Linked DNA regions of Homo sapiens: all the other regions are linked to region 3. The links are contacts of gene promoters, found by promoter capture Hi-C in blood cells and fetal thymus (Javierre and others, 2016). All regions are on one chromosome and are shown on one strand. Each heading gives the region's core, a stretch centred on a gene start or on the middle of the fragment in contact. The rest is flanking DNA. Distances are from core to core; before and after follow the strand shown. Region 1 has its middle 100 kb from the start of ADRA2C. Region 2 has its middle 170 kb from the start of ADRA2C. Region 3 holds the start of LINC00955 (long intergenic non-protein coding RNA 955).

Region 1 (4,247 bases), core at 1,272-3,771, 290 kb before region 3:
GCTTACTGGGCAACGAGACAGCCCCTGGCTTACCACAGGGGAGGCCCACGAGGCTATCCAGGACAGCGGCAGTGACAGCCGGCCCCGGCTTCAGCCTGCCAGGCCGAAGGACCCTGGTGGCACATCAGGAAGCCCTCCCTGGGGCTGGCAGAACAATGTTGGGGACAGGGGGCTTCTGGGCCAGGCAGACCTGCCATGCTTTTGCGTTGGGGCCTGGAGTTGTGGCGAGGACTAGGTGAGGAGAGTTCATGGACAGCAGAGCCCCTGCACGTGAGCTTTCCACGTGATGTGGGGACCAAAGGTGGGGTGGGGACCATGGCTTCAGCTGTGCAGGTGCCGGTTGGCTCTCACCTGGGCTGAGTGGGGACCAAGGGGGATTGCTGTGGGTGGAATTGTGTCCCCCCAAAATACATGTTCAAGTCCTAACCAGCTGCAGCTGTGAATGTGACCGTATTTGGAAATAGGGTCTTTGCTGATGTCAGTAAGTTACGATGAAGTCATCCTGGATTTAAGGTGGCTTCATCCAATGGCTGATGTCCTTGTTAGAAGACACAGGCACCTGGGGAGAATGTGACAACTGAGGCAGGGATGGGAGCAATGTAGCCACAAGCCCAGGAACACCTGGGGCCCCAAGAGGGAGCCTCGCCAAGGCCTCCTGAGGGAGCACGGCCCACCGGCACCTTGGTCTGGCATTTCTGGCCTCCGGGATGGTGAGAGGATAAACTCTGTATCTGAGGTCACCGGCTTTATTGCGCTTTGTCGGCAGCTGTAGGAAATTAAAGGCAAGATGTCAGGTGGACCCACTAGGACCCAGCCACCACAGGGAGGCCATCTGAGAAGCTGCAGGTCTCTCCTGCTTAGTGGCTGCCTCTCCTCCCTCCCCACTGCCCTTGACACTGCTCTCTTCGACTCCCAAGGACACATTAACCCTCAGATCCCTATCTCCAGTCAGCTCTGGGGAGACACAAACCCAGACACGTCATTTGCTTGCACTGCGGGGCACTCAGAGATGGATGCCCATGTTTGGTCTGCTGCAGTGGGTCATCTGGGGAGTGGGGGTACGTGGTCATGGGGTCTGCATTCCTTGTTTCCAGAGAACCTCTATGATGTGGCATTCCCAAGTCACAGGCCCAGGCCAGGTCCTGCAGCAGGGGTGAAGTGCATGGGACCCTTGGGCCCTGCCTCTAGGGGGCTGCTGTCCCTCTGCTTGCCCCCGGTGTGAGCGCCTGCTTATGGTGAGAATGTGAACCCTTCGAGGTCCTCGGGAAGCGAATCTGGGGACCCCAAGAAGGAGGAGGTGGGCCGGGGCATTCCAGGTTCACATCTGGGGCTGGAGACTTTGGCCTGGCATGCACAGGTCTCAGCTGCCCAGGCCTGGGAAGAGCTGGCATGATGACACCCGCTGGCATGGCCTCGGTGCGCGAGCCTGGCACACAGTGGATGCTTGAAGACTGTCTGCGAATGCTCCAATGACCTTATCAGGAGGCACATCTGGTGGTTAGGCCGCTGTCCTTGGTACTGCTAGGGCTGAGTCCCTGAGGGTAGCAGCTATCTCTAGGACTGAGACTGACCCGTATTCCTTGGTGATATCCAGGAGCAGTGCTGGCAGCTGCATGGTTGGGCCTCCAAACCTCAGGTTGCAATTTGATCCCAGAGTGTTGGAGGTGGGGCCTAATGGAAGGTGTTTTCCTCATGGAGTGGATCCCTGTGAGTAGATTCATGCCCTGGGGCGGGGGTTGGGGAGTGAATTCTACTGTCTGAGTTTCCGACAAAGCAGCTACTGAAAATAGCCCGCACCCACCTCCTTCTCTGACTTCCTCTCCCGCCCTGTGAGCTCCACACACGCAGCCCCTCCCCCTCCACCGTGAGTGGAAGCTTCCTGAGGCCTCCCCAGAAGCCAAGCAGATGCCAGGGCCGTGCTTCCCAGGCAGCGTGCAGAACCGTGAGCAAGTAAGCTTCTGTTCTTTATAAATCACCCAGCCTCGGGTATCCTTTGTAGCGACACAAGTGGACTGAGATAGGCAGCTGTCGTTCAGCAGCATTTACTTTGTGAAGGCACTGGAAGCCTTTCCACTTTAGCACAGAAGACTTCCCAGGGGCCACAGCAGGTGCACACTTGTGCAGCCGACAGCGGAAAGGCAGAGATGAGTTGGCCAGTCACTGGGTGTCTTCCCCATGATGCTGGGGGCCCCTGGAAGGCAGGGCCAGCGCCTTGTCATCTCTGTACCCAGTGCCTTTTCTAGAGGAAAGGGACAATATTAGAGATTCGATGTTTTCCAAGGCAGAAAGTTCCCGAACGTATTGCAGGAGGCTTGGACTCTGCTCCTTAACAGCCAGTGTGTCTGCAGCAGCAGCTGCCCACAGTGGGGGACATGTCCCAGCCAAGGGCTGCAGAGTCCTCACAGCAGTGCCTCCTCGCCTCCAAGGCCTGGCTGGCAGGTCAGCCCGAAGAGGCTTCCAGACTTCCCCGGGCAGGATGGGCGGCACCGCCTGTGTCCCTGCCCCTCTCACCTGCTACCTTGCATCCTGGTGCTATGGCCATCACCACAGACAGGCTTACTCCCCGAGGACAAGGGCCACAGCACAGCCCTCTCCCTCACTGATTCATCCACACGTTTGTGGAGGCTGGCTCTGAAGGCCCTGGACTGCTCACCTCCACAGGGACCAAGTCTCCCTCCCACCCTGAGACCAGCCCAGGAGGCCCTGAGGCCTTCAGCCAGTATACTGGGTGGATAATGTCCCCCTCATTTCATGTCTCTCCTGGAACCCCAGAATTTGCCCTTCTCCGGAAACAGGGAACTGCAGGTGTAATTGGTTCAGTTAAATGAGGCCCTGTTTGAGTAGGGTGGGCCCTGAACCCACATGACTGGTGTCCTTAGAAGGGGGGAAGAGGCATGGACAGGCAGGGAGTGTGCGGGGCCAGTGGGGGCAGAGACCAGAGTCCTGCTGTAGCCTGCAGAGGCTGGAAGAGGCAGGAAGGAGCCTCCCTGGGGACTGCAGAGCCACCACAGTCCTGCTGGCACCTGGATCTCGGGCTTCTGGCCTCCACAACTTGGGGAGAAGCAGTGTCTGTTGTTTGAAGCTTCAGTTTGTGGGACTTGGTTTTGGCGGCCCCAGGACACGAATCTGGCCGGCATCCGTTGGAATGAGTCTATCTGAGCAGACAGAGCGGCCCCAGCCTTGCTGGCCTCCCGTTCCCGCAGCCCATTCTGTGTTCTGCCTCCCCACTCTCCTGCCGTTTTTCTTCCCATCCCTGCTGTCCCTCACATGGGGGCCACCACGCTGGACCACTGCCTTACCCTCCTGTGTCCACGTCCGTGGTGATGGAGGTGGCTTAGCAGTGAGTCCCCATCTCAGGGAATTCAAGCCAGGCTGGAAGGGGGATGACTGAAGGTCCTTTGCAGCCTGCCAGGAAGGCTCTGAGAAGTCAGGCCCAGCCCTGGGCTCCCCATGGAGCTGCCCACTCCCCTCGGGGCTACCCTCCTCCTCACCGGGGAAGATGAGGCCTTGATCCCAGAGCTCCGGGGGCCCATCTGGACTCCACAGTGGGCATAATTATCACCTGAGTTGTAATATTCTAGCCAGGATTCAGCCTTCCCCTTGCCTGTCCAGCTCACCAGCCCCGCCTTCAACCCCTACTGGGCCTGCGTCACCCCCACCTCTGGGTCAGCCCAAGATGCTCCTGGCCCTCCTGACAAAATCTCCATCTCTCAGCCTGGCATAGCTCTTGCCTGCCTGGGTGGCTGTGACTTCCATTTGGGCTGCAGGCATCACGCTGCTTTCTCCACCTGAGGCACACCTGCCACCCTTGTCCACCCAGATCACACCTCCCACCCTCGTCCACCCAGCTCACCCCTCCCACCTGCGACCACCCGGATCACACCTGCCACCCGTGTCCACCCGGACCACACCTCCCACCTTCGTCCACCCGGGTCACCCGTCCCACCCGTGACCACCCAGATTACACCCCTCCCACCAGCGTCCACCCAGATTGCCCCTCCTGCCCACGTCTACCCGGGTCACCTCTCCCACCCGTGTCCATCTGTCCCACCCGTGTCCACCTGTCCCACCCGTGTCCACCTGTCCCACCCGTGTCACCTCTCCCACCTGTGTCCACCTGTCCCACCCGTGTCACCTCTCCCACCCATGTCCACCTGTCCAGCTTTCACAACTTTCTTTCAGCTTGGGAGCTGTAATGTGTAGAAAACCTTCCTGTCCAAATGAGCTCTGACTGGCCCTTAACACAG
Region 2 (4,320 bases), core at 93-2,592, 360 kb before region 3:
TTACTTTTTGCAATAAGAAACAAGTAACATTTGCAGAATTCCACCCATCTTTCAAGGCTGGTCCCAGAAGCTCCCTTTGCCCACTCACCTACCTGATCCTGCTCACTTCCTAAACTGCAGCCCGGCCCACCCGGCTCCAGCGTCATTTGTGGAGTGTCTGTTCCATAAATCCAGCGGGCAGGCGGGCAGGTGGGGTTGTGTCCTAACTTTCCCGAGCCTACTGTACCGAAACGGGACAGCAGAGTAGGCCAGCCTCTGTGACCTCTGCTCCCTCCCTAGCTTTTCCGCCAGACCCCACATGGTCCCACCCCGACTGTGGGAAGCAGGGATCAGGGAGCGTGGCTCGGTGCCAGTCTCCAGAACCCTGCCCACCCTGGCTTAGTGGCAGATGTGGCTACCTGCAGCTGAGCTGCCAGTTCCTCTGAGTCCTCAAAGACCAAGCCGTTTTCTTGATGTTTCACCAGCTCATGTAAACTGCAGAGAGAACCAAGGGAGCCTGAGAGCTGCCTGGAGAAGACACCAGACCCCTGGGGTGCCCACCTGGGCTCCCCTCGCACCCCACGCTCAAGCCAGGCTGGGGATTGGAACAGGGGGTGTGGTTTCTGGGAGCTGGTTCTTAGATTTGGCATCTGAAGGGTATAAAGGCCTGGGGGAGTGCACATCAAAATGGCCAAACCGATTTGAGGAGGGAGCCTTAAGGAGGGTTTGTACCTTCTGTGCTGGATGCTCTTCAAGGACTGAAGAATTATTTTTGTATGTTTTTCTTAATTCCATGGCTGTGGAACAAGTAAGGCAACCCCCTGGAGACTGGTTCAGCACATAAAAGATGACTTTTCTAGGGCACCAGATTTGATCAAGACGTTCCCTGAGCTCAGCTCACACGAGGGGCTTGAATCCCTGAATCCCATCCAGGAGCCGGCTCCTGAGCAGGGGCCAAGGGCTCAACTTGTGCTGGGGCTACTGCTTCTAGAATCTCCTCTAACGCCACCCTTCCAAACACCCATCTATGCTGGGTGCAGTGAGGCCACAGCATGACACTCATTTAACTCATTCAAACCCACCATGTGAGCTTGGCCAAAAGGGACATGGTGGGAGAGAAAAACAAAGAAAACCATGTAAGCCTGCAGGCAATTCCCGCCAATTCTACTCTAGGAGCAAAAGCCCCGAGTGGAGTTCTAGTATTTAAGGTGCTTTCTTTTTTCATATTAGGTTGGTGCAAAAGTTATTGCCATTTTTAATGGCAAAAACCGTGATTACTTTTGTACCAACCTAAATATAACATGAGTTCTAAATGGAAGCAACTACTTCAGTGAGGCTCAGCCCAGCCACAGTAACCACAGGGCTCCTCCTCATGGCCTCCAGTGTGTGCTGGACTGACCAAGGGGCAGGGCCTCACTGTGGGCAGCTGGCTCTGCACTGTTTCCCCCTCAGCGGTGGATCTGTGAAGCTATCCCCAGAAAGATTCGGGTTCTGCTCCTACCACTTGAAGTTCACAACGCACACACAGGCAAACAGCTCCTGAACATGTCCACCACCTTCATGGGCAGGTCCAGGCCACTGGAGGACGTGTCTAGACAGACACCCAGGTCCACCGACCCTGCTAGGCAAGAGGGGTGCGGTCAGAGAGCTGGTCTCTGCCCTGGGAACACAAATCCTCCCAGCACAGTGAGGCAGCATCCCCCGAGGGGAGTGAAAATCAGATAAGGCCCCCCGCAGCCCCAAGCACAAGTGGCTTAAGCTGGCCAAGCAGCCACATGGTCTGGCTGGGACATCTGAAAATGTAAGTTGACACTTTTTCTACGTAATCACAATTTGGTTTTTTTGTTGTTGTTGTTTTGTTTTGAGACAGAGTCTCACTCTGTCACCCAGGCTGGAGTGCAGTGGCACAATCTCAGCTCACTGCAACCTCCACCTCCCAGGTTCACCTCCCGCATGTAATCCCAGCATTTTGGGAGGCCAAGGTGGGCGGATCACCTGAGGTCAGGAGTTCAAGACCAGCCTGGCCAACGTGGTGAAACCCCATCTCTACTAAAAGAAACACAAAATTAGCGAAGTGTCGTGGCAGGTGCCTGTAATCCCAGCTACTCAGGAGGCTGAGGCAGGAGAATTGCTTGAACCTGGGAAGGCAGAGGTTGCAGTGAGCCAAGATCGTGCCATTACACTGCAGCCTGGGCTACAAGAGCGAAACTCCTTCTCAAAATAATAATAATAATAATAATAATAATAATAATAATAATAAACCACAGCACACCCACTACAAACCAGCTGTCAGTGTGAAAATAAAGCGAAACGGCTTAACATTTCTAAAGACTAGCTGGGACCAGGCGTGATGGGTCACGCCTGGAATCCCAGCACTTAGGGAGGCCAAGACAGGAGGATCACTTGAGGTCAGGAGTTCAAGACCAGTCTGGCCAACATGGTGAATCCCTGTTTCTACTAAAAATACAAAAATAAGCCAGGTGTTGTGGAGGGCTCCTGTAATCCCATAATCTACTCGGGAGGCTGAGGTGGGAGAATCGCTTGAACCCAGGAGGCGGAGGTTGCATGAGCTGAGATCGTGCACTCCAGCCTAGGCAACAGAGCGAGACTGTCTAAAACAAAGACTAGCTGGAGAGTCCTGCCAGGAAAAGGCCTCAGCCTCCAACTGCTCTGCTCACTAGAAGCTGGAAGATGCGGCTCTAGAGACGCATCAGGACCAAGACACAACTCCCCACTTGGAGAAAACAACGGGGAAAGAGACGGAGGCAAAGCAGAACCATCTCACTGGGAGAGGCGACGCTGTTTGACACATCGTCCCTGTACCTCCCAAAGCCACTGCCTTCCTACACCTGGGCAACAGTGGCCCCAACCCCAGGCCCAGCCCTCCTGCAGGAAGGAAGAGGACTGAATGGAGGGCGTGGCAGGCTGAAAGGATGTGACCTCCTCAAACCCCTTGGTAAAGGGCCTCTGGGGCCACCTGGCTGGGAGGGGCTGGCACACCAGAAAGTAGCCTCCTCCCGGGAGTTCAGCCAGAGCCCAGGTCCCGTGCCCAAGTGGCCTCCAGAGCCACCTTTTCAGAAAAAGTACATCCTGCCCACCCCTGTTCCCCCTGCTTAAGGCCCTGCCTCCTCCCTGAGCCTCCCGCTGGCCTCTCACCTAGAAGCGGGGGTAGTCCTCGGCCCTCCAGCCAGGGGGTGCAGACCTGGATGTGCTGGAAATGCTACTGGTGGATGAGGCGGCTGTAATACTCCCTCAGAGGCCCTTTGCCTTCACAGAGAAGAGGAGACACTGCCATGGACCCGTCTCTGTCCCTGCCACATGGCCCCAGGCTCAAGACACTCCCCCCTAGGAGGGATCCTTTTCCCAGAAGCTCCACCCCTCGGCAGCTCCAGTCAGGCCCCATCTGGGCCCTTCCAGAAGCTACCCAGGAGCCCCGAGACATGCAGGGGTGTGTGCACCCTGACCCCTGAGGCATAGTCCTGCACCTGCAGCCAGCTGGCCTCGGGCTGCAAACATGGCGGAGTAAGCACTGGCCTGGCACCCGACCGCCCACTGGGTGGATCCAGCCTTCTGTCTGTGTTGTGCGCAGGGGACACGAGGACTCCCCCTTCCCTGGCACAGCCCCCAGAGCACATGGCGCAGGTTCCAAGACGCCCCTGCCCTGCCACAGCCTCCAGAGCACATGGCGCAGGTTCCAAACCACTCCTGGGAGCCTAGAGGCCAGAGGAGGGAGGAGAGCAGGAGCAGCAGCTGGCCCAGACCCCGCCTCTTCCCACACCGCTTCCGCTTTTCTCCCTCCTCACTGAGTCACCTTGAAAGGGCTCAGCAGCAGTAACTGTGGGACAGGGGCTCTTCCGTTTAAAAAATTAAAAGACGCTTGGTTAAGGCACCAATGACATGGCCAGACACAGTGATTCATGCCTGTAATTCGAGCATATTGGGAGGCCAAGTTGGGTGGCTCACCTGAGGTCAGGAGTTCAAGACCAGCCTGGCCAACAGGGTGAAACTCCATCTCTACTAAAAATACAAAAATTAGCTGGGTGTGGTGGGCCCCTGTAGTCCCAGCTACTCGGGAGGCTAAGGCACGAGAATTGCTTGAATGTGAGAGGTGGAGGTTGCAGTGAGCCAAGATCACACCACTGCACCCCAGCCTGGGCGATAGAGACTGTGTCTCAAAAAAAAAAAAAAGACACCAGTGATGTAACAACAACAACAAAAAAGATGCTTGGAAACTACTGAAAAAGTAGAAAGCTTGGTATCTACAGATTCAAATCTGGGCTCCCTGCCCTGCTGTGAAACCCTCTGAGCCTCAGTTTCCCCCATGTCAAGCAGTATAAGTCC
Region 3 (4,359 bases), core at 387-2,886:
GCTGGCTAGCTGGGTGGATGGATGATGGGTGAGTGAATGGATGGGTGGGTGATGAAAGAAAGGGAGGACGGATGGGTGGATGGATGGATGAGTGAGTGAATGAATGGATAGGTGGGTGAATGGAATAGGTGGATGGATGGATGGACGGATGGATGGATGGATGGATGGATGGATGGATGGATGGATGATGAAAGAAAGAAAGCATGAAAGGATGGGTGGGTGAATAGAATAGGTGGATGAATGGATGGATGGTTGGAAGGATGGATAGATAAGTGAATAATGAATGGGTGGACGAATATGTGGATGAATGGATGGATGGGTGGATAGATGGATGATGAAAGAAAGAAAGGGTGAATGGATGGGTGGATGGGAGAGTGAATAAATGAATGGGTGGATGAATGGGTAGATGGATGGATGGGTGGATGGATGAATGAATGAGTGAGAGGATGGGTGGGTGATGAAAGAAAGGAAGGATGAAAGGGTGGACGGGTAGGTGGATGAATGTATGATAGGATGGAAGCTGGCTGGATGTGGGGGTGGATGAGTTGAATGGACAGATGGGTAAGAGGGTGAGTAAGTGGGTGGATGGTGAAGGAATTAATAATGTTATTATTATAAACATTATTATTATTATATGAATAAGTTTCTGGTTTAGAAGACTAGTATCCTTCTGAGAGCTCTCTCAGAGTGTCAGGCTCTACAAATTTGCTTCCTTGGGCTGCCCCTCTCTGGGTTGTTTCCCCATTTGCTCCATGAGTGTGAAGGAGTAGATTGGCCAGATTAGCTGCGCCTGCTCCAGGGGCCCAGCCCAAGCCCAGGTGCCTGGGAGTCACACTCCAGGACACTCGACCCCTGCCCTCTGGGGCCAGGGTCAGCAGCCTCTGGCCAGACCCCTCTTCTTAAAACAAGCTCAGGTAGGGAGAGAACACTGCCCTGCTGGTGGTTGCCATGGAAAATCCTTCATTGCTTGTTTTTCTCCTCGACTGATTAAGAAAAGGGAGTCATAAAATGACAGGGCGTCACTGGGCCTTGCCGCTGGCCAGCTTTGACTTATCCCCTGACATTTCCCAGGAGCCAGCTAACCTTTTCTGCCACAAATAGACTGAAGCGGGTCCCTTGAGGCAGTCTAGCCTGAACAGAGTCCATCTCAGGGGAGGTCAGGACCCGGGATACAGCAACAGGAGCCGGGTCATTCAAATAACCAGGAAGGAGAGCAGACAGTGCTGGGACCGAGAGCACAGCGAGGACCCTAAGGAAGCCACCAAAAAACAGCCTTCGCAACAGTCAGGACTGCTGTCAGGACCACCAGGCAGAGCCCAGGGAGCAAACACCTGCTCTCCCTCCCTGGGGTCCCCGCTGTGTTCCCAGGCATGACACTCACCTCCCAGAGCAGCAGCCTGGCCTCTGCTCCTCTCCGGGCAGAAACGACACAGGGATGCTCCCCAGTCAGTGTGCTGGGGTCCTAGGGGCGTTGGCGACGCCGGGGCAGGTTCCACCATAGATCCTGCTGCCTCAATCCAGAGGGCTTTCGGAAGGCGCCCCTGCTATGGCATCGCAGAGGGAGGAGACCCGGGATGTGGCCCAGCAGGGCTGTGTATACACCAAGATGCCTCCGTCTGCCCTTCCAGCTGTAAATCAAGACTCAGCCGTGGAGAGGGAGGATAAAGTCCACAGGGGCTGAACCTCCTCCCCAGCCCTGGTCTCAGCCTCAGGATAGAAGACTTTAACCCCAGAAGGCCCTCAGGAGGCCAGGCAAGCCAACACCCTCGAACCTGTGCCACGATGGGGGGCGATGGGGCGAGGACAGAGCCTGGAGTCACAGACCAGGAAACTGGGTTGCCTCAGCTCACCCAGGGTCCCAAGGCCAGGACAGGGCAGAGCCGAGACCAAAGTCCCTGCGAGGCCGCCCTCATGAAGGGACTCGGGAGGGTTCACTGGGTGAATGGATGAGCCTGTACAGTGAATGAAGGCCGAGCCCACGGCTGGGAGCTGCCATCCCCGGCTTCCTCTGAATACAGACAGCCTGATGCGCAGGTCTCAGATCTGGAAGGGGGCCTGGGCCCCTTGACCCCATCTCTTCATTTACTGCTGGGGAAACCGAGGGCCAGCCTGCCACAGTAATGCCGTGGGTGCCTGAGTCATCTCCTCCTCCTCCTCTTCCTTCTCCTCCTCCTCCTCTTCCTCCCCCTTCCTCATCTCCCCCTTTCCTCCTTCTCTTCCTCTTCCTCCCTTCCTCCCACCCGTCTCCCTCTCCTGAGCCCCAGCTCTGCTCTGCCACCAGGCCTTGTCCCTTTTAGGGTCCAAAAGAGCAGGTCCTGCCCTGGGGCCAGTCAGCATGAAAAGGGATGACCATCTCTTCCTCCAGAGGACAGGGACTCTATGCCCCAGGCACTCCAAGGTCAAACCTGGCTCCCACTCAGACTATGAAGACAGCATCCACTGGGTCAGAGTCATGAAGCCACGGGTCCCAGGGGACAGCTCAGGTGGCCACAGGGCCAGACTGGCAGGCTGCCCTCTGCCTCCTGTTAGCACAAACACCCCTCCCCTCAGGCCTGAACTCTGACATGAGCCAGTGGGCACCGGGCCCTGTCAGGAACAGGAGGAGGCCACAGCCATCCTCAGGAGAGAACAAAGGACACACAGGCCTCCGGGGAGAGCAGTGGGTGGCAGTGACAGGAGGGGCTACTCAGAATTCATGAGCGAGGGCCAGGCAGCTTGGCCACCTTGGAGGAGCCGCTGCACCTATCCAAGCCCAGGTTTCCCTGCTGAAGGCAGCACCGGTGTCTCCTCCTGGGGGTGTTGAGAGGGTCATCCCAGGCCAGGGAGGTCGAAGGGCTCTGTGAGCTGTGAAGCGCTGGGCACCTGTGGGGCGGGGGCGTTCATCCTGCGGTCAGTCTGCCCTGGAGGGCGGAACACCTACGCACTGTTCCAGCGGGAGGGGTATGGCGTCCAGTGAGGCCCAGCTCCCCGAGCCTTTCCTGATGGCACTGGAAGACAGGCAGCATCCCAGAAACATATAAAAGGCCCAGGGGCTGGTGCTGGGGGCACATGACCGGGGCGACCCTGGGCTGGGCTGTGTACCCCCGGAGCACTGCAGCAGACAGAGCAGGGGTGCGAACTCCAGGGTCCCAGGATCCATCTCCTTCCCTGCAACAAACCCCTCTCTGCTGGAAATCCCTGGAGCGGTTCCTCCATCCTGCTCTGAACCTCCTTGACTGATCCCACCGACCGGTGCACTGCACAGCTGCCTGGAGACCAGAAGATTCCATACGTCTCCCTCCACCTGCCCAACACCCACAAGCCCAGGAGGCTGCCCTCCATAATTCTGGCTTTTCTGCGTATTTTTCAAAGCACAGGGCACTGGAAGAATGCCTGCATGAGACATTCTTGCAAGCCAGAGCCCGCTGGAGGCATGCAGGAGAGCAAAACCTCCCTGCTGTGTCTGCAGATTTGCACACATTTCTGGGAAATAAACCTGCGGCCCCTCCTCTCCCCGAGACGTTGGTTTATCTTCCAGGGCAAAAGGATACCGTCTTTTCTGTGGCAAAGATGGGGGCGAGATGGCTAGCAGTCCCCTTAGAAGATCAAGGGTTTCCTCGGCTGACACAAACCTGCTCTGTTTGCCCCCTGAGATGTGGGGGACAAGGCAGAGGGATAAGGACATGCTGTACCCTGAGTAATAAATGGTCAGGACCCTTCAGGCTTGTCGCTTCCTTACTGGTCACGTTTATGGAAGTGTGGCGCAAACGTGGCCGCTACTTGGTCAAGTGACTGCGAGTTCCCGTGCGTCTCGGGTCACCAGTGTTTCTCCCTGGCTGTGCCCACACCTCACCTGGCCTCCCAGGCCCTGTCTCCCTGAGCTTCTCACAGCACGCTCCCTCGCGGTCTGTGTACCGCCTCTTGGGTCGCCTTCCACACCTTGAAGCAGGAGTGTGAGTTCCTTCCGCGGACCCGGTGCGGGCTCCTGTGGCCCCGCTCAGCCCGTTCTCATCCTTCAGGGAGTCTCAGATTATTTTTGTTTGTTGTTTCTTTTTTTTTCCTTCCAACTTCTATTTGAGGTTCTAGGTATACACGTGCAGGTCTGTTACACGGGTAAACCGCGTGTCACGGGGTCTTGGTGTACAGATTATTTCATCACCCAGGCACTGTGCATTGTACCGACAGGTGGTTTTTTTTTGTTTTTTTTTTTTGTTTTTTGTTTTTTGTTTTGTTTTTTTTTCTGAGATGGAGTCTTGCTCTGTCACCAAGGCTGGAGTGCAGTGGCACGATCTCGGCTCACTGCAACCTCTGCCTCCTTGGTTCAAGCAATTCTCTGCCTCAGCCTCCCGAGTAGCTGGGATTACAGGCACCCTCCGCCAA

What was found. Contacts are between HindIII fragments. The CHiCAGO score rates a contact against its expected background, and 5 or more counts as called.
Region 1: a fragment that was not itself captured here is called in contact with the fragment with the promoter of LINC00955 in region 3 in 3 of 17 cell types (endothelial precursors, M2 macrophages and M0 macrophages); the score reaches 5.9 in endothelial precursors.
Region 2: a fragment that was not itself captured here is called in contact with the fragment with the promoter of LINC00955 in region 3 in 1 of 17 cell types (M0 macrophages); the score reaches 5.2 in M0 macrophages.

Annotation. Positions count from the first base shown.
Region 1 is chr4:3,865,820-3,870,066 of GRCh38, reverse strand. No RefSeq gene overlaps it. Among named protein-coding and RNA genes, the nearest start is that of ADRA2C, 100 kb to the right of the region's middle. RefSeq lists an enhancer at 1,306-1,819. The HindIII fragment of the contact is 1,127 bases long and covers 1,958-3,084 here.
Region 2 is chr4:3,937,472-3,941,791 of GRCh38, reverse strand. It overlaps the pseudogene ALG1L7P and the pseudogene FAM86EP. Among named protein-coding and RNA genes, the nearest start is that of ADRA2C, 170 kb to the right of the region's middle. RefSeq lists an enhancer at 3,358-4,103. The HindIII fragment of the contact is 5,781 bases long and covers 1-4,232 here.
Region 3 is chr4:3,574,146-3,578,504 of GRCh38, reverse strand. It overlaps LINC00955 (long intergenic non-protein coding RNA 955), which reads right to left and starts at 1,636. Exons shown (of 3, transcript NR_040045.1): 1 at 1,382-1,636. The HindIII fragment of the contact is 6,504 bases long and covers 1-4,359 here.